Regions from separate parts of the Homo sapiens genome. Here all the other regions are linked to region 7. Evidence: promoter capture Hi-C in 16 types of primary human blood cells and fetal thymus (Javierre and others, 2016). All regions are on one chromosome and are shown on one strand. Each heading gives the region's core, a stretch centred on a gene start or on the middle of the fragment in contact. The rest is flanking DNA. Distances are from core to core; before and after follow the strand shown. Region 1 overlaps YKT6 (YKT6 vesicular SNARE protein). Region 2 overlaps UBE2D4 (ubiquitin conjugating enzyme E2 D4). Region 3 overlaps INHBA-AS1 (INHBA antisense RNA 1). Region 4 overlaps NUDCD3 (NudC domain containing 3). Region 5 has its middle 3.1 kb from the start of TMED4. Region 6 has its middle 210 kb from the start of INHBA. Region 7 holds the start of C7orf25 (chromosome 7 open reading frame 25).

Region 1 (2,762 bases), core at 249-2,748, 1.3 Mb after region 7:
ACAACACATGTCCCAGCTGATTTATTTATTTATTTATTTTATTTTAGATGGAGTCTTGCTCTGTCACCCAGGCTGGAGTGCAGTGGCACAGTGTCAGCTCACTGCAACCTCCGCCTCCTGGGTTCAAGTGATTCTCCTGCCTCAGCCTCCCAAGTAGCTGGGATTACAGGCGCGCACCACCACACCCGGCTAATTTTTGTATTTTTAGTAGAGATGGGGTTTTACCATGTTAGCCAGGCTGGTCTCGAACTCCTGAGCTCAAGTGATCCGCCTGCCTTGGCCTCCCAAAGTGCTAGGATTACAGGCTTGAGCCACCACGTCCGGCCTGAGCTTGTTTTCTTATAAGACCGCTTTACTTACGTCCTTTGTGCCCTATAATTACCCGATTCCAAAGTTGAAAAAGTAGTTTCCCAGCTTTTTTGGTCTTTGTATACATGCTGTCACAATGCAGTTCTTCCTTTGTCTCTTTATAGCCGTGTCTCAAATGCTGTCTCTAGGTTTACTGCAAAGCCTTCCTTGTTTGAGGTCTTCTTTTCTGAGGGGTTATTTTGATCACTTCAGTCCCTCAAGATATTAACAAGTAATACTGTGTGTGCAGGCATTGTTCCAAGTGCTTTACACGTATTACCTCGTTTAACTGTTGCACAAATCTTGATTTTTTTAATGTGGAGGCACAGCACACAGGCCCAGAGTCAGGCCTTCAGTTACCTATATGGCTCTGCTGGAGCCTGCTGCAGACTCCCATTTGAGCACCCTGCTTTGATGGCCCTGGTTGCCCTTTATATCACATCCTCAGTTGGAGGCTCCTTGTCAGCACCTCTTCCTCTGGCTGTACCATCTCCTGTGACTGTTCTGTTCTGGATAGATCTCTCTGTTGAGCCCATGATGGACCTTCTCCCTTTCACCCTTTGTATGAGCCATTTCCCACTTCTTTGTCTTGGATGAGCAGTTTTCCTTTTGTTCCATCCAGAGTGTCTTGCGCTCGTTCTGTGGACGAGCCCCAGCAGACCTGAGCCAGCACTCACTATGGGTGTATGTGGCATTGCGAGGGTCTGTCATGTGGACACAGCCATAAATGGTTGTGCATTTCTGCCTGACAGTTTTTGCACACTATTCTTCTAGTGCAGTTCTTATAAATGTCCTGCTTCTTGGAAGTTATTGGGACCTTGAGAGCAGGACCTGCCTCTTGTTTTTCCATTGCATTCCAAATTATGCATTCACCAAAATGTAAAATTGACTGTATCCTGTGGAAAAACCCCCCAGAAAATTCACCTGTTTTGGTGAGCCAGGTAGCAAACAGATGGAGCTTTCATGGTGATGATAATTCATAATTATCAGTATTTGTGCTCATTTATAGAGTGTTTGTTACTAGGGATGGGAGGGAAAGGAATGAAACCAAGAAGCAATGTCTACTTAATGTATAAGCCCAGAGGTCACTTTCCACTGTGTTGGGGACAAGGTGATAAGAAGTAGGCAATAAATACATTTTGTGTTTCTTAGCGTTCAGGAATTCATGACCTTCACGAGTCAACTGATTGTGGAGCGCTCATCGAAAGGCACTAGAGCTTCTGTCAAAGAACAAGGTAAGAAGACCCTCCAACTTCTGTGCGTGTGCTGGCCTGGCTGCCATGCCTCACCTCACATAGCACCCAGCTTTCTCCTTTCTACTGGGACCCTACTCCTCCTCTAGCTTGTTCTCTCTTTCCCACCTCTTCCTTTTCCTATTTATGCAGAATTCTGTGCCCACTGTTGAAGTCTGAGCTTCCCAGATAAAATTGCCCTCAAACTTAGACTCATTTAAGATTAGGGTCTGACTCTTTTGGAGCAGTAAGCAGCCTTCATATCGTATTCTTCCCTATCCTCTTCAGAGTTGCAGACCCCTCAAAAAAGGATTTCCAGCTAGCACTGTTGAGGTACTATATGTATTCTGTGCATCGTAGATTTTTTGATCAGGAATCTGAAAAAACTATTTTTTCTTTCTGATAATTCAGGTTTAGGCATTTATTTAGATGTGTATGTTATACAGACAGATCAGGAAAGAGTTACATGAGTTTCATCAGGTAGGGACAAAGATCATCTCACACTTATGCTAACCTCAAGTCACGTGACATAGAGTTACTGAATTGATGATATAAATGTCAGTTATGATACAGGCAGGATTGACTATATACACTTTATGTGGGATCTCTGTGCTATTAACATCATAGAAGTGAAATCGCATCACAAATATTTCAGTGTTCTTGCTCTGTTCTTCAAACTGTGCCTGCCCTTCCCACGTTTATTACTTAAAGACAATTCCTCCACTGACCAGGTTCTCAGTTTCTTTGGAGGGTATGCACTTTGACCCCATGTTTGAATCTTAATTGGGGATGGTATACAAAATCTGGAGAGCATTGGTGACAACCCCCTGTCCTCTTCCTCCTCCTCATTCTTGTTCTCATTTATCTCTGCTCTTTTCTGATTTCAGGGGCTCACCATCATTCCCTCCTCTTTTATTTGTTTTTCTGTTGTTTAGCATTGGAATCTTCTGGGTCAGATCCTTAAGGACAAGAAGGTTCTTATTTGTAAGCTGTAATCCTTACATTTCTCTTTCCTTGGGGATATGGTTAGCTGTATCAACTCTGAATCCTTTCAAAGTGATGGAAATGAACAATCCTGTGGATTGTGAATATTTTGCGGAAGACCTGTACAACTGTACCTTTCAATCATATGAGGATTTTAGCACAGTGCTCTGGAGGCCTTAGCTGGCAGTAGCTAATCTT
Region 2 (2,700 bases), core at 172-2,671, 1.0 Mb after region 7:
TAGTAATTGTTCTTTAAAGAAACTTGGGGCTGGGCGTGGTGGCTCAGGCCTGTAATCCCAGCACTTTGGGAGGCTGAGGCAGGAGGATCGCTTGAGGTCAGGAGTTTGAGACCAGCCTGGCCAACATGGTGAAACTCATCTCTACTACAAATACAAAAATTAGCTGGGCATGGTGGTGCGTTCCTGTAATCAGTCCCAGCTACTCTGGAGGGTGAGACACCAGAATTGCTTGAACCCAGTAGGCAGAGGTTGCAGTGAGCCGAGATGGTGCCAGTGTACTCCAGTCTGGGCAACACAGTGAGACCCTGTCTCTAAAAATAAAAATAAAAAATAAAGAGAACTTGGAAATAAGATAATACCATATTCATCTACTTCAAGATGAATATTTTTTCAAATGTTCACGTCTCTGAAATTGGGATGCTTCTTACAATAGCTGTCAGCCAGGTTACCTTCACTTAGATGTCACTATCTGTATGAGTAAACCATCATGGCAGTTCATTATGAGGTAAGTGCATTGCTGGTACTATATTTGTTGAGTTTAATTGTTTTAAAAATATTTTCAAAAAGATAGTGTGATTTAGCACTGAAAAGAAAAGCTTTTGTGAACACAGGCACAGAAACAGGACAACGACGAGTAAATTTCATAATAAGGGAGCAAATATTTGTTGTTGGAGGAAGGACTGGAATTTCCTAATTCCATGTCAAGCAACCAAATTCTTCATAGCCACAGAAAGGAAGGTACCACCTACCCTCAAGTTGGTGAGACTGGGTCATTTTTTTTTTTCTGGAATACGTGCAAATAGATTGTGTATCATGGGCCTTTGCAGAATAAGTATTCATGGCTTGAAAGAAAACTCCAGGAAGAGTAGTAGAGGACTCTAAGAATTGCCACATTACCATTGTTTTGGAAGACACAGAGGATGATATTGTGTAGACATCAATGACTCAGTGTTGGGCTCTGAATGGGAAGAAACTTTAGGAATACCTGAACAAACCAGTTTATTTATTTCACTTGTTTTTCCTTTTTTTTTTTTTTGTATTCATGAATGATACTTAACAAGAAACACACAAAGCTATGTTTAAGCCTAAAATAATTCTTTTGATAAAAGTAATTTTAATTTTTTAATTTTTTGAAACAGAATCTCACTCTGTCACACAGGCGCAGTCTTGGCTCACTGCAACCTCCACCTCCCGGGCTAAAGCAATTCTTTTTTTTTTTTCCCACAAGAAGAAAAAGTACATTTTATTTAATGACCAAGTACACACACACATTCACACACATGCATATGTACATATAACTAAAAAAAATATTTTTTCTCATCACATGGGATGCATTGTGAAATATTCTACATTCTTTCATTTAAAGAAAAATGCTGGTCACGTTTTAGTAAAAATCTTTCACAAATCACTAATATGTTACAATGCATAACTGCTCTAGAGCATTAACAATGCTAAGCTATAATTTTAGGGAAATATATAGTGGTGCTCCTTCTTAGAATTAGCCCATGTGGTATTTTAGGTACTCAACTCAGGGAAAAAAAAAATGTAACATAGCCTTGTTACCATGTATTCAGCCTGGACATGGTACATGCTTTCAGTGAGCTTAAATCACCTATCTTCCTAGGCCCAAGATCTGAGGGAATGACTTCCAACTACGTAACAGGACCCTTTGTCTGTATTATACATTTTATATGTCTTTTTATGTACATTGTTTCACTTGTTCCTCACAACAACCCTGTGAGGTAGGGAGGGGAAAATATCAGTTACGCTTTATAGATAATGAAGTTAAGGTTCAGAGAGGTTAAGTGACTTTCTCAGTTACCTAGTAAAAGGCAGAGACAGAATAAGAACTATTAACTTTTAGGTTGGGGGCCCTTTTCTCTAAACCACATAGCTTTGGAGAGTATATTCTAACCCAAAATATTTTTACTGCTTCATCCTCATTTTCTTATTATTAATTCAACTTTTTACAGAATACCATAAAAGACCTAATTCTAAATTCATCATGCTAAATTTATGCTTCTCTGTAAACTTATGGCCACAGAATACATATTTTTTTTTTTGGAAAGCACTGTCACTTTGGCCCTAAAGGAACATAAGCAATATAAAGGGCCCCAGAGGCCAAGGAAATTGAAGAGAAGTCAGAAGAAGGGATATAAAATGGAATGTGTTAACGGATTTTAGTCCCTTTAAGTTTGCACTTTTGTGAGAGGGTTCAATGGAGAGCTTTAATGCAGATGAGACTTGAAGCTTTTGAAGAAGATCTAAGTCTTGATGAGGTTATTCAAACTCAGATCTTGAACGCATAATGATGATAGGCCATGGTCTTCAAAAACGTGGTACTTGATGCTCTCCCACAGTGCCAGGACTGGAATGTCACAATACATATAGATTCATGTTTTTGTCCATTAATGGTCTGTGGGTTTCTTTAAATGAAGCCCATTTTAGAGTCCATAGATATCAGTGTTCTGCGAAACTGTTGGGGATTGGAGGCTCCCAAAAGACCCCAGATGCTCTGCCCTGCCCATGGCATCACCCTCTAAAGCGATTCTTGTGCCTCAGCCTCCTGAGTAGCTGGTTATAGGCACATGCCACCAAGCCCAGCTAAGTTTTGTATTTGTAGTAGAGACAGGGTTTCACCATGTTGGCCAAACTGGTCTCGAACTCCTGACATCAGGCGATCTGCCTACCTCGGCCTCC
Region 3 (2,700 bases), core at 16-2,515, 1.2 Mb before region 7:
CCAACTCTATGCACTTGAGAAAAAGAGAGAACATGACAATGCCGTAGGTGATACCACCTGTCACTCAATGCGTATGCCCAAGAATAGAGAAATAGATGCGAACCTGATGTTCTTCTGGGGTTATGCCCACAAAACAATACTTTCTGAACCTATGGATGGATTGTGAGATTTTTCAAGATATTTTAATTATACATAACATTTGCCTTATATGCTGAATCTAGGCTTATGTTAGATGCTATTCCACCCTACCTAAACTTGAGTGGGGTGCAATCTGCCCAGCCTTAACTTTGTCCACAGAAAGGATGTGTGGAATGTTCTTAACTCTGGTCCACTTGGGTCCTGGCAGGTCACTCTGATATCTGTTTCCTCATTATCCAGCACTTGGGCATCTTCTGGGATCTATATGACTGAGGTGGAGTTTTCTTCCTCCAACCCTCAGTTTCTTTGCCATATTAGATTTCATGAGCTTTCTCTTGGTCCATAACATATTCAGAACATCTATGTTGATGGTTACTGTTTCATACACAAAACTATTTTATCAGAGCTCTCTCTTCTTCCTCAACAACAATGTTTTTATTGAGACGACCACTTAGCCCAAGACATGTTAGTGGATCTTTTTGATTAGTTAGTTTGTTTGTTTTATTTTTATTTTTATTTTTTTGAAAACTGACATCAAACAGCTCCAGTTATTTCTAGTTTTAGCAGCACAACAAATAATTTTCTGGGGGGGAGAATAGGTAGCCATTTGTGATATGAGGCAAGCAAACCATGATCTTGTGAATATAGCAAGTTGCTGAGGCACAATTTTCCCAGGTGGATAAAGCTGGGCACTGCCCCTCTCATCTGCATCTATTTGTAGCAACAGATTTCTATTAAGGGCCAAATAGCCATCTGCAAGGAAAGAAATGAAAGCTTTGAGGTTTTGAGTTATTAGAGGATATCTGATATCATGGTGTTTTTCTGGATGAGGCCAACAGATGAGACAAGGGGCTCCCAGGAGAGGTGGATTTAGGCTTAACGCTGGGGCCTTGTTGTTGGTGGGGTGAGCACTTTCTGGCAAATCGGGTTCTGTAACCTCCTCTCCCCGCCCCCGAACCAGTGTCCAGGCACCATGATGCGCCCTGGAGAAAATGTCTGTGTCTGAGTATAAAGTGATAGGATTATATCTTGGAATTTGGGCTGGGAGTGGTGTGAAGCACCCATAGATGAGAATAAGCCTGAGAGGAAAAGCAGTTTCTTCCTCACCCTGGATTCAGAAGTAAGGCCAGGTGCTCTTCAGTGCTTTGGGGCTTGTGGCCTTGCCCTAGAATATTCACCTGCTGATCACACCAGGCAGTGACAATGGCAGTAGAGAAAGCACTCCCTCAGAGGAAATGGCCAGACTTCCCAGTTTCCTCCTCTGCAAAGGGTTATTAATCACCACGGGTCCCCTTCCACTTAGAATGCATTTGAAGCACATGCAGAGGGAGAGCTTTCTCGCGATCAGTGGAACAAAGGCTTGGAGTCAATAGGATTTGGACACCAGAAGAAAGGAGACATTATTTTGCACCACACGCTGGTGAAGTGGGTATTATCTTCATCAGAATTTTTATGTAAAATTTGGAGACTGCCCATCAAGAAAGCTTCTTTGTGAACCCAAAGGTAGTGATACTTTCCTTAACAATGAGGGGGTAGAACTTATGGGAAGCAGAATGCAATTAAAACTCATATCCGATATTCTACTGCTCAACTGATGTCTTATTAAAAATGTGTGCTTGTGGCCAAGGAAGTAGGAGGTGCGCTCTCAGCTGTCAGGCAGAGAAGAGAGAGCCGTGCCCTGGATCCATGTTTAAAGGCCTGCACACTCAGATCCCCAGTCCATGAGGAGGGAGCCGTTTACATCCTCTTCCCACATGACAATCAAAATCACACCACAGACTTCATTTTTCTCACTTCTCCTACACAAGGGCTCATGGTTGGGCATAAGATAATGAGGACAGGCTCTGTCACCCACAGTGTGGCAAGATAAGATGTAGCATAGTCAGAAGAAATTATTTTAGGGCCCCCTCCCCCAGAATTTTCACTGGTGACTCAATTCATCCTTTATGTGGCTAAATGGGTGATATCAGATATAGGATCCTCAGATGCCCTGAGTTTTAATTCTGGCTCTACCACTGACTTCATTTCTGTAATAGGTATACTATCAAATGTCTCCATGCCTCTGTCTCCTTGAAGGGAAAACTCACTTCACCAAATTATAAGGAACACCAAATTATTGTGAAGTCCTCTGCCAAGTCTAGTTGAGATTTGTATGATTCTTCAACCTGTCCAGCATCAGCCCCTCGATATTTTATGAACTGTGGCTCTCCATAAATTAAAATTTACCAAGACATAATTGCAGGAATGTTTTAAAATATTACTCATTTTTAGTAACATTTTGGTAGCATTTGAAATTATGGCTGCTAGATCTTTCTTGGCATTCATTGTATTAAACCTCAATGGCTCTATCAAGTAATGGGTTTTTGAGTTGGCCAGTAAAACTCATCCAATATCTCATAAGTTATCACTGTATTTAATTCTGTCTTCAGGAAGGCAGAATTATTAATCTTGAAGACATCAATGGTATGTTTCACATAGGAATTGAAAAATGCTTAGTGACAATGAAGATAATAGAAAATCTAAGTCACAGGAGAATGAACAGTGGGCTAATGGCATTCAACT
Region 4 (2,872 bases), core at 96-2,595, 1.6 Mb after region 7:
ATCGAGCTGCTGAGGCTAAGCCTCTAAACACAGATAAAGTTAGGTCTTTGTGAGAGGAGTCAAGTGCTCTAATTTTGGCTCTGGATCTCAAATGGTTGTATGACTACTGACCTTACCAAATGAGGGAACTGACCTTAAGCCAACTGACCTCCCATCCTACATAACTGAAAGACTGTAATGCAGCAGTTTACAAACATGAAGAGCTAAATAAATACTGAGATCAAGAATTAATGTGTTACAAAGTAAGAATAAATTATGGAGAAACCCAAACACCAGATGTTACGCAAGAAAGAAGGAAGCTGCAAAGTAGAAATTCCCACCTGGGAAGAATTGGTGGTTCCCTAGGGACTTCAGCAGCACCAGCAACTGCTCCTGGAGCTTCTGCCTCCTGTGAACCATGGGCCATTTCCTTCACAGGGCCTGGAGGCTGCACTTTCTCTACTTCCTGATGCCCATCCAATTCTGTGGTGGAGTCAATCTCTATTTCCTGGACTGGAACTGGGACTGGCTCCTTCTCAGCTGCAGCAGCTGACACAGTCTTGGCCTCTTCCTCTTCCTTTCTTCTGATTTTCTCTTCAAGTTCCTGCCTTCTCTTCTCATCATCCTGACGGGCCATGTGGTCAAAGGTTTTGAATACCTAAAATCAAACACCAATCCAGCAATCAGTTCATCTGCCCAATACTGTACCACATATCTTGTAGAAATGTCGTAAAATCTGTGAAGGAGAGAACTAAAAGTCAGAAACTGACAAGTTTTCCCACTGGCAAAATGGAAATGCACTGCCACTTCACCAAAAGCTGACAGGTAAACAGTGTTTAACAGGAGGATTCCAAAATCAACAAAATCAGAAACTTATAAGCCAAGGCTAACAATATTTACATACCTAAAAGATGTACAGTTAGATGGTCTTTGTTGTCATTATTTTACAGACCCCAGTCTTGTTCACAATGCAAAGAATACACGGTCCTGGTACAACTGTGGGTTATAAAGGCACCAAAATTCAGACTCACAAATGAAACATGAAAATATGGCTGAACTTCAATTCCCAAAATGGAACCAGGTTTACAGGACTGCTGCTGTTTTTCACCACACTGCATGGACATTCAATTCAACAAACATCTACTATGCGCCTACAGTGTGCAAGAAACACGCACGCACAAAAAACATCAAAATGATTTCTGCTGCCTCCTAAGAACTCAAAATTCTGGTGTGTAAACAAGTTCTTAACATTTTCTGGGAAACAGTCACACCCATGAAGGTGCTGGGACCTCTCTACCAAAAAAGTACAGTCAAGACATACCCACACATGAAAACTCTGATACAAGAGGGGGCATGACAAGGCCCTCAATTCCCTGTCAGGGTATGGGTGGGAATGAGCATGTCTGGCGAAAGAAATCTAGGGAGACTTCTTGGAACAAGGAGGATCCCAGTTAGACCCTGAATGAGAGGCACATCTTCCACAGGGAACCACTGGAGGAAATGCCACAGCTCTAAGAATAGGCTTGTCAAGGAAGGGCAAAAGCTCTTGCAATAACTGGAGGAAGGAAAGGCTGAGACAGCAACCTGGGACATGGGTGGGAGTCAGATTCCAAAGGGCTAGAATGCGGACAGGTATTAAATAACAATGTTCTGTGCACTGCGCGGGCAGTCAAAAGGGTGCTAACAGACTAACTGTGTCAAATTATTTTACAAACATTCTCTCAAAACCCTCACAAAAATACTGTGAAGAAGACAGCATCAACATTTCAAAAATGAGAAAAAAATAAGGCTTGGAAAGGTTACGTAACTTGCCCCAGCTCCTGCTGGCAAAAGAAGTAAAAAACTACGCAGCACACACCAAACAGTGTGGGGAGATGATGATGTAGGCAGAGGGGAAAAAAAAAAATCAATAAAATCCTAAAAGGTTAAAAACTGGAAACAACACCAGAACCATTTTTACTTCTGCAGATAACCTGAAGCCCTGACTTCATTCTAACATTAGGGTCTCTACCGCTTTGAGTCCATGCTTTCAGAGTTGCTCATCCTGCTGATACTCCAGATCTTCATCTTAACTCCACAAAAGCAAAGCAACAAGATCTCTCTCTCCTAACACCTGAGACTTCGAACACAGAACCCCCAGACTTGATAGTCCTCACCATGCAGCTGCCTCTGCTCACTCAGTACATCCAGCCTTCTCTGACCTACCCATTCACACCACCAGGAAGTGCTACCACTGCCAACCTCCCAACTATCACATGTTCTCAGTACTCATTCTAGAGTCACAGAACATAGGGCTGGAAGAGAACTCTAATCTGTAACCTCCAATCAATCTTCTCAGCTGACAAGAGGTGAAGTGACTCTCCCAAGATTTCTCAACAATTTATGTAAGGAACAGGATGTAGCTAGCTTTCCTGATTCTAGTTTCAAGGACTTCTACAAAGGAGCACTTCTCAAAGTGGACTCCAAAAAAAACAGCATTATCGATTATAATGAATGGCTTGTCAGTCTAAACGATTTTTGTCTTAAAACATACTAATGTATTATAAAATGGAATGCAATTTTCACATACATCATTCCTGCTGAGGTTCTTCAAGCTGTGTATCCAGGCTATGCAAACTTTTAAAAGGAAACGTATGAGCTGCCTAACTCTACACCAACACTGTACTCCCCAAAATATTAAGGGAACGCTTTGAAGTTCCACAATGATGCAGCCCAGCACTCCCATCCAAATTCTTCTCTGCCTATATTCAGCAGAGACACCAAGCATCCCACATCTGGTGGGGGTGGAGAGGCAGACCCCAGGAAGGAGTCTTATGCCATCAAGTTAGGGACAGAAAAAAAAAAAAACCCTAAGAGGCAGATGAGTAGGAGTGGGGAGGTCAGGAGATCACCT
Region 5 (2,838 bases), core at 272-2,771, 1.7 Mb after region 7:
TGGGAGGCTGAGGTGGAAGGATCACTTGAGGTCAGGAGTTTGAGACCAGCCTGGCCAACATGGTGAAACCCTGTTTCTACTAAAAATACAAAAATTAGCCAGGTGTGGTGGTGCACACCTGTAATCTCAGCTACTTGGGAGGCTGAGGCAGGAGAATTGCTAGAATCAGGGAGGTGGAGGTTGCAGTGGGCTGAGATGATGCCACTGTACTCCAGCCTAGGCAACAGAGTGAGATTCTATCTCAAAACAAACAAAAACAGGGCCGGGCGCAGTGGCTCACACCTGTAATCCCAGCACTTTGGGAGGCCAAGGTGGGCAGATCACGAGGTCAGGAGTTCGAGACCAGCCTGGCCAATATGGTGAAACCCTACCTCTACCAAAAATACAAAAATTAGCTGGGTGTGGTGGTGCTCACCTGTAGTCCCAGCTACTTGGGAGACTGAGGCAGAAGAATCGCTTGAACCCAGGAGGCAGAGGTTGCAGTGAGCCGAGATCATGCCACTGCACTCCAGCCTGGGTGAGAGAGAGACTCGTGTCCAAAAAAAAAAAAACAAACCATATAACAACATATATATATATTATACATATTATATATATATTATATATATAAATTTCCCCTCTCTTTTTGTTGTTTGTTATTCATGGCATTTACTTATTGAAGAAACTGGGTCATTTGACCAACAGAATTTTCCACTTTCTGGGTTTTGCTGATTGTATCTTCAGGTGTCATTTAACGTTTTTTGTCCCTGGTATGTCCTGTAATCACAGTTAATTCTAGAGTCAGGGGAGGTTTACAGTGAAACTAATGAAGCTTAATCTTCAGGCCCTCCCTTGCATAGACCCCCGTACCTAATTTCGCATTTATAATTTTGTGTCTTTTTCTTAAAGAGGACTGTGAAATTTGTATAGTTTAAGGCCCCACAAAGCTTGGATTTGCCCCTGGCTAGAAGCTTCATTAGGTTTAGGTGTAATGTTGAGGTTTGGGTTTTTTTGTTTTGTTTTGTTTGCAATAACGCTTCGTGGCTGGCACTATGTACTTCTACTGAGGCACAAGGCGGGTTTGTCTCTTAGTAATATTGTAATTCATCTCTCAATTTGGGGGTTGTCATCCTGATTATCCATGAAGTTTACCATCAGCCTTTCTTCTAATAGTCTAGCAAACGTTGATGATCATTAGACCATTGGTTCTCAACGAGGGTTGATTCTGCCCTGTCCTACCAAGGGGAAATTTGGCAATGTCTGGAGATATTTTGGATTGTTGCAACTGGGTGGGGGGTGGCGGGTGGTACTGCTGTTATCTAGAAAATGAATGCAAGGAATACTGCTAAACATTGTATAATTCACAGAGCACACCTCCCCCCCACAGCGAAGAATTATCCAGCTCAAAATGTCAGTAGTACCCAGGTTGAGAAACCCTAGTGTAGTTTTATGATGTTCCTTAGGTGTGCAAAGTGGTAATTTCAAATGCTCTCATTTCTCCTGCATTTATAAGATGAGATTCTTCTACAAAGGTGAGCATTCCCTCATCTCTCTGGTTACTTTGAAATACAATCCATTCGGGATAGCCAGGATGTATGCTTGATGCTTTCCCACGCACAGTGGCTCTGCCTATAATCCCAGCACTTTGGGGGGCCAAGACAGGAGGACTGCTTGAGCCCAGGAAATGGCAAGATCTTTACAAAATATGTAAAAATTAGACAGGCATGGTGATGCATGCCTGTAATTCCCGCTACTTAGGAGGCTGAGGCAGGGAAATGGCTGGAGCCCAGGAGGTTGAGGATACAGTGAGCCGTGATGGGACGACAGCACTCTAGCATGGGTGACTGAGTGAGACCTTGTCTCAAATAATAGTAATAATAATAAAGATGGATGGATGGATGCCCCAGCAACCTCTAACTGTGACCACTTTGGGTTCTTTGGGGAGAAGGGGCAGTGCTATCATGAATTGATGGATGTTTAGATATTTGATGTGCTTTAATCCATTACAGTCATTGTCCTTTTTTAAATGTTCAGATTGTCTCATCAAATATTTAGTTGCTGCTGTGTCCTTCTGGCACAATCCTAGTAATCCACAATCCTAGTAGTCTTTAGGTCAAGCTTGTCCAACCTGTGGCCCATGCAGCCCAACACAAATTCATAAACTTTCTAAAAACATTATGAGATTTTTTTTTTTTTAGCTCATCAGCTATTGTTAGTGTATTTTATGTGTGGCCCAAGACAATTCTTCTTCTTCCAGTGTGGCCCAGGAAAGCCAAAAGATTGGACACCCTGGACTTCCTTGCTTTCCGTTTTATACATTTACTGCCCAGAAACAAAACCAACCATTTCTCCAAGGAACCCTAATTCACTTTAGTGAGAAATGGTATTTGTATTGGCAAACTTATTTTCTTTCTTTTTTTTTTTTTTTTTAAGGAGGATCCTGAAATTTGTCTTAACTGAGAGATAATATTAAAGAGATTGTATTCTCCACTGCAGAAAATTTAACTTAGGAGGTGAGGCACTGTGGCTCATGCCTGTAATCCCAGCATTTGGGAGGCCGAGGCAGGAAGATCGCTTGAGTCCAGAAGTTCAAGACCAGTCTGGGCTACATGGTGACACCCTGTCTCTACCAAAAAAAAAATTAGCTGGGCATGGTGGCATGGGCCTGTAGTCCCAACTACTCGGGAGGCTGAGGTGGGAGGATTGCTTGACCCCCAGGAGGTTGAGGCTGCAGTGAGCTGTGATGGTGCTGCTGCACTCCAGCCTGGGCAACAGAGTGAGACCCCATCTCCAAAAAAGAAAGAAAATTTAACTTAGGGAGTCTAATTCCCCAGATGAGAGATTTTTCTGCTCAGAAGC
Region 6 (2,700 bases), core at 123-2,622, 1.0 Mb before region 7:
AATGCATTAGCACACTAAAAAACACTCCCACCATGACAGTTTGCAAATGCCATGGCAACATCTGGAAGTTCTCCTATATAGTCTAGAAAGGGGAGTATTGGTGGAATCCACCCCCAATATTTCAATGTAGGTTCTTTCTATTTTCCATAAGTGTCGGCCAGCTGAGAAATAAACAGAGACAGTACAAAGAGAGGAATTTTGCAGCTGGGCTGCCAGGGGTGACATCACATATCAGTAGGACCGTGCTGCCCGCCTGAGTCTCAGACCAGCAAGTTTTTATTAAGGGTTTCAAAAGGGGAGGGGGTGTAAGAACAGAGAGTAGGTACGAAGATCACATGCTTCGAAGGGCAAAAGGCAGAACTACTAGTAAAGGTCTAACAAAGATCACAAGGCAAAGGACAAAAGCAGAACTATGATAAGTGTCTATGTTCAGCAGTGTACATATTGTCTTGATAAACATCTTAAATAACAGAAAACAGGGTTCAAGAGCAGAGAACTGGTCTGATCACAAATTTACCAGGGTGGAGATTTTCCCCACCCTAGTAAGCCTGACGGCACTGCAGACCAGGGTGTATCTCAGTCCCTATCTCAAACACGTAAGACAGACATTCCCAGAGTGGCCGTTTATAGACCTCCACCTAGGAATGCATTCTTTTCCCAGGGTATTAATATTAATATTTCTTGCTAGGAAAGGAATTTAGTGATATCTCTCCTACTTGCACGTCCATTTATAGGCTCTCTGCAAGAAGAAAAATATGGCTCTTTTTGCCCAACCCCACAGGCAGTCAGACCTTACGGTTGTCTTCCCTTGTTCCCTAAAAATCACTGTTATTCTGCTCTTTTTCAAGGTGCACTGATTTCTTATTGTCCAAACACACGTGTTTTACAATCAATTTGTACAGTTAACACAATTGTCACAGTGGTCCTGAGGTGACGTACATCCTTAGCTTACGAAGATAACAGGATTAAGAGATTAAAGTAAAGACAGGCATAAGAAATTATAAAAGTATTATTTGGGAAGTGATAAATGTCCATGAAATCTTCACAATTTATGTTCCTCTGCCACGGCTCCAGCCGGTCCCTCTGTTCAGGGTCCCTGACTTCCTGCAACAGGGAAGAACCCTCAGTTCTGGGAAATCCTTGCTCCTTTCCTAGAGAACTCATGAATAATCCACCCCTTGTTTAGCATATAATCAAAAAATAACTATAAGTATACTCAGTTGAGCAACCCATCTCCCTGCTCAGCCTATGGAGCAGTCATTCTTTATTCCATTCCTTTCGTAATAAACTTGCTTTCACGTTACTCTATGCACTTGTCCCAAATTCTTTCTTGTGTGAGGTCCAAGAGCCCTCGCTTGAAGTCTGGGTCAGGACCCCTTTCCGGTAACAGTAACGGTTAGTAAATAGAAAATATCTCAAATTGGTAAACCTAGAAATAATAGCAGAGACGTATGTGGAGATAGAGAGTTAACATATAAAGAATCAACACAGGAATTAAAGTGTTTGCCTCTAGAGTGTAGGACTATTGGCTGGGGAGGCTTGGAGCAAAAGACACTATTATCGGAGTTTGGCGCCACTTAATGATTTTAAGCATGTGCATATATTACTTCAGTAAAATAATTTTTTAAGTGATGGGGAGAGGAAGCTGTGAAGATAGCTCATGAAAACTCTACCATCTCTTATGGTCTTTAAATAATCAAAGATGTGATTTTTCTCTCATTTCCATTGGATGGCTTATTCTACTGCTAATTAAAGCTGTTTTCTTTTTATGCTTTAATTCTATTAAAGTAATATTTTAAATTTAAAATTTAAATTTTTAATTTTTAATAAAAATTATGTTATTCTATTAAATTGATAGTTTTTCTTTTCTTTGAATTTGCATTTTAACTATCTTTAATATTTACTATCTGTGCTGTTTTAACACACTTCCACAAATTCTTTGATTTTTCTCCCGCCTTAAATGTGGGCTCGTGCTGACACTGAAGTGTGACAGAAATAAAGCAGTGCGACTCCGGATGACAGATCATAAAAGGTATTTTGGCTTTTATTCTACTCTCTCTCTTGGGTCATTCACTCTGGGGGAAGCAGCTGCCGTATTGGAAGGATGCTCCTGCTGACCTATGGAGAGTCTCCTAGGAGAAACTGAGGCCTCCTGATGACTGCCACGTGACTGAGCCTGGAAGCAGACCCTCCAGCTGCATTCACATCTCCAGATGACTGCAGCCCTGGAAGACACCTTGATTGCAAGTGCATGAGAAACCCAGAGCCAGAACCACCCAGCTCAATCACACCCAAGTTCATGATTCACAGAAACTGAGATAATAAATGCCTGATGTGCTAAGCCACTTAGTTCTGGGATAATTTCTTACAGGCAGTAGATAACTAATACACCATGAAAGTAATATAGATCTGGTCCATCTGGCCTTTTCTCAAGAAGTAATTCCATTCCAGAGACGTTGATATTCAACACTTTTCATCAAGGAGAGATGATGAAGAATTCCTCCCAGATTGAAATGAAGGTCACCCTAGAAGCACAGATTATGCAAAGAGCACTACAAGAATACTTAACACTTGCATAAGATTTATTTTAGTTTATTCAGGCCCTAGAATCTTTCCTTAAGTCATTTGCAAGTTAAAATATAACAGCTTAACTGCTAGTGGTTTTACATTTTTCTCTTCCCCGTTCTTTTGATTTACTTA
Region 7 (2,700 bases), core at 200-2,699:
AACCAAAGACATGAAGAACACTAACAACTTCTTCCAGGTTTTCTGCTGATTCCACAATGGCTCTCAGGTGTGTTAGGTTAGTGCTCTGTAAATGAGACTCTTTAATAGCTACTTTCCCAGCTTCTACTTTCTGCAAGAATTTTAATTCTGCCTTCAATTTGCTGCACAGCTTTGCACCACCTTCTATGCCACCTTTTCTTGATCTAGAAAGTGATTCTGCTCTCTTGATCAGTTCCTTGGCTATGGCGATTCGTTCACAGAGCATGGAATGTGCAGACATGCTGTCAGCATTATTCCTTTCCTAGGGAAAGAAACAAGGCAAACTTCAGTAGTCTCCTAAAATTATGACAATCAATTCTTCACTGGTGATTAAAAACTTCAATCTAGCAACACAGCTTATGGAGGGTGAGTCTATGAACCCGGGCTTGTGTATGTCTCATTCTGGAGTGACTGCTTCCTCTGATAGCTAAGGAAAGGATGGCAGCTACACTTTTGAACTCTTCTTTAGGTACGTCTGACACACTTTAGACCTTCATTTCTTCAGCTTGAAAGCCATGGGGACACAGCATGGTCCTAGGTTAGGATACAATGCAAGAGTTGGGCAATCTGCTATATAAATAATTCCCTTATGTCTATCAGCGGCCTGTTTAACTGCTGAGAAATTTTAATAAAGGCGACAAAAATGCCGAAAACAAAAATACACACAGACTGGCTAGTTAGCAAACTGTCCAAAGCAAGTGTCTGTCCTAAACTGAGCACTTCAGCCTCCCTAACCTTTTCCTCCTTCCCGAGTTGGTCTCCTTCAACCGGCTGCCTCATGATTTCCCCCGAGGCTTGGGGTACTTACGCCAAAAAAAATCAACACTGCCTCATTTCTGCATTTGACGTCAACCCAGACTATTTTAAAAGACCGAAGAAGACCACCAACTTGCGTCCCACTCCCACTCCGACTCTGAAGGAAAATCCGAAGATGAAACTAAACTCCAAGGCTGCAACCCGCGGCGGCCGTGCAAGCGGCCCCAGCGCAGGTCGCCGGGTGGGCGGGCCAGAGGCCGGCGGGGCCTTCTCGGTGGGCTGCGGGGCCCTCGGCCCTGCCCGGCCACCTGCACAGCCGGGCCCTGCCAGGAGGGGCCGGGGCCGAAAAGCCCCCACCGCCAGCGCCGCGGCTCAGGGACCAGGCGCTGATAGCGCGCGGCCGACCCCCTTCCCGCCGGGCCGGCCCTGCCCAGCCCCCTCTGGCCTCAGAAGAGGCGCCCCGCTCCCAGCCTCCCCGCCTCGCTCCCCGGCTCCTCACCGGCAGCGCCAGAACCGCGAGCGCGAGCACGCAGGCGCGTGCACGCAGAGGCCGGGACCCGCCGGGAAATCTCAACCGGGCAGCCCCCACCCCGCTCGAACGCCGAGGCGGCTCCACCCGCGCGAGCCCCGCCGCCTCGGGCACCTCCTGCATCACGTGGTTCCGGGCCGGGTGACGCCAAACCTGCGATTCCCAAGCGGCAGCGCGGCCTCCCGAGCCGGGTTGACGCTGGCGTGGCGGCCATGTTTATTGAGGGCACCTGGCTTCTCCCGCTTGCGCCGCCGGGTGAGCCTGAAGGCGCGCACCCACCTGGCTCCAGGAAGAGGGACCGAGCTCGCGTGCTGGGCCTCACTCCCACTGGGGGCGTCGGCCACTCGATCGCAACCGGGTCGTAGGCATTTTGGGGGCTCATTTTAACAGAAGAAACGCTGGAGAAGCTTGTCAGAGGTGACAGCTGAGAAGTACTGCCTCTGGGACTTCTGCCTCCAAGCCAAAGCACTTTCCACTGCATTGTCCTGGGCCCTCCAAAGAAAGTGTGCTGTCCTTCTGAAGAGAAGAAATGATTGCATGGCTTCCGAGGGGCTGCCATATTCATATTACTGTAGTAGAGTGTCCAGAGTCACCCAGAAAGATTAGGGCTGTAAGAAAGTAAAGCTAATTTAAAATATTAAAGAGGACTTCCAGTTATAATTAATCCTGTGTATCCTGCTCCTTCTCCAAACTTAACAGTAAAGCAATGCTCCTTCTCCAAATAACAGTAAAGCAATGACAAAGGGAACAAACAAAGGCAAAAAGAACAAGAGAAGAGATGACTGCAGACCGGTTATACCAACACATTTTTGGAGGACAAGAGCAATAACTTATTCAGTCCTTACAGCGTGACAGACATTGTTCTAAGTGTTTTACACATTGTTCACTCCTTTAAACAACCTAAAAGGTAGAGATATTAAGTATGCTTTACAGATAAGTGAGCCATAGGGAGGTTACCTGAACCCAAGCACCCTCTTTGCAGATGGTGTCAGGAGAACTGAGCAAACTGCTTGTAGAAGGGGATATTTAGCCACTGATTCACAAAGCAGAACCCCAGAAAGCTTCAGGTGCCTTGAAGGTAGAAGGGAGGGCAGTAAATTGTTCAGGCAGAAGACTAGTTTAAGATGCTAAAGACAGGGCATCAGAGGGATTCCAGACACAAAGCCTAACAAAGGATGAGAGGTGCCATGATGTTTTCCTACTGAATAGTGCAATGCTAGCAGCCCCCTTCTCTGCCCCTCCCATAATGCAGGCACCCCTCTACCGCTCCCTACCACTATCTCCCCATAACCCTATTTTTCTCTGAAGAAATGAGTAGACAAAAGACCCTAGAGAAATGGCTCGGCAATACCAACATTCAGCATCCCCTAGTGTGA

The links. Contacts are between HindIII fragments. The CHiCAGO score rates a contact against its expected background, and 5 or more counts as called.
Region 1: a fragment that was not itself captured here is called in contact with the fragment with the promoter of C7orf25 in region 7 in 1 of 17 cell types (non-activated CD4 T cells); the score reaches 5.6 in non-activated CD4 T cells.
Region 2: a fragment that was not itself captured here is called in contact with the fragment with the promoter of C7orf25 in region 7 in 1 of 17 cell types (total CD8 T cells); the score reaches 5.0 in total CD8 T cells.
Region 3: a fragment that was not itself captured here is called in contact with the fragment with the promoter of C7orf25 in region 7 in 1 of 17 cell types (M2 macrophages); the score reaches 5.5 in M2 macrophages.
Region 4: a fragment that was not itself captured here is called in contact with the fragment with the promoter of C7orf25 in region 7 in 5 of 17 cell types (neutrophils, fetal thymus, non-activated CD4 T cells and 2 more); the score reaches 11.4 in neutrophils.
Region 5: a contact is called between a fragment that was not itself captured here and the fragment with the promoter of C7orf25 in region 7, in 1 of 17 cell types (fetal thymus). The highest score is 6.2, in fetal thymus.
Region 6: a fragment that was not itself captured here is called in contact with the fragment with the promoter of C7orf25 in region 7 in 1 of 17 cell types (megakaryocytes); the score reaches 5.3 in megakaryocytes.

Annotation. Positions count from the first base shown.
Region 1 is chr7:44,203,068-44,205,829 of GRCh38, forward strand. It overlaps YKT6 (YKT6 vesicular SNARE protein), which reads left to right. Exons shown (of 7, transcript NM_006555.4): 2 at 1,501-1,583. Among named protein-coding and RNA genes, the nearest start is that of YKT6, 3.5 kb to the left of the region's middle. The HindIII fragment of the contact is 5,882 bases long and covers 1-2,762 here.
Region 2 is chr7:43,933,432-43,936,131 of GRCh38, forward strand. The region is part of intron 1 of UBE2D4 (ubiquitin conjugating enzyme E2 D4); the gene reads left to right. Among named protein-coding and RNA genes, the nearest start is that of UBE2D4, 8.3 kb to the left of the region's middle. The HindIII fragment of the contact is 1,654 bases long and covers 595-2,248 here.
Region 3 is chr7:41,737,058-41,739,757 of GRCh38, forward strand. All of the region lies in intron 2 of INHBA-AS1 (INHBA antisense RNA 1), which reads left to right. Among named protein-coding and RNA genes, the nearest start is that of INHBA, 35 kb to the left of the region's middle. The HindIII fragment of the contact is 710 bases long and covers 911-1,620 here.
Region 4 is chr7:44,484,648-44,487,519 of GRCh38, forward strand. It overlaps NUDCD3 (NudC domain containing 3), which reads right to left. Exons shown (of 6, transcript NM_015332.4): 2 at 321-637. Among named protein-coding and RNA genes, the nearest start is that of NUDCD3, 4.6 kb to the right of the region's middle. The HindIII fragment of the contact is 6,811 bases long and covers 1-2,872 here.
Region 5 is chr7:44,583,928-44,586,765 of GRCh38, forward strand. No RefSeq gene overlaps it. Among named protein-coding and RNA genes, the nearest start is that of TMED4, 3.1 kb to the left of the region's middle. The HindIII fragment of the contact is 1,147 bases long and covers 949-2,095 here.
Region 6 is chr7:41,908,840-41,911,539 of GRCh38, forward strand. No RefSeq gene overlaps it. Among named protein-coding and RNA genes, the nearest start is that of INHBA, 210 kb to the left of the region's middle. The HindIII fragment of the contact is 4,179 bases long and covers 1-2,700 here.
Region 7 is chr7:42,910,621-42,913,320 of GRCh38, forward strand. C7orf25 (chromosome 7 open reading frame 25) reads right to left here and starts at 1,450. Exons shown (of 2, transcript NM_001099858.2): 1 at 1,295-1,450; 2 at 1-301. The coding sequence starts at 280. RefSeq lists enhancers at 279-976, 977-1,673 and a silencer at 1,022-1,281. The HindIII fragment of the contact is 2,903 bases long and covers 1-1,729 here.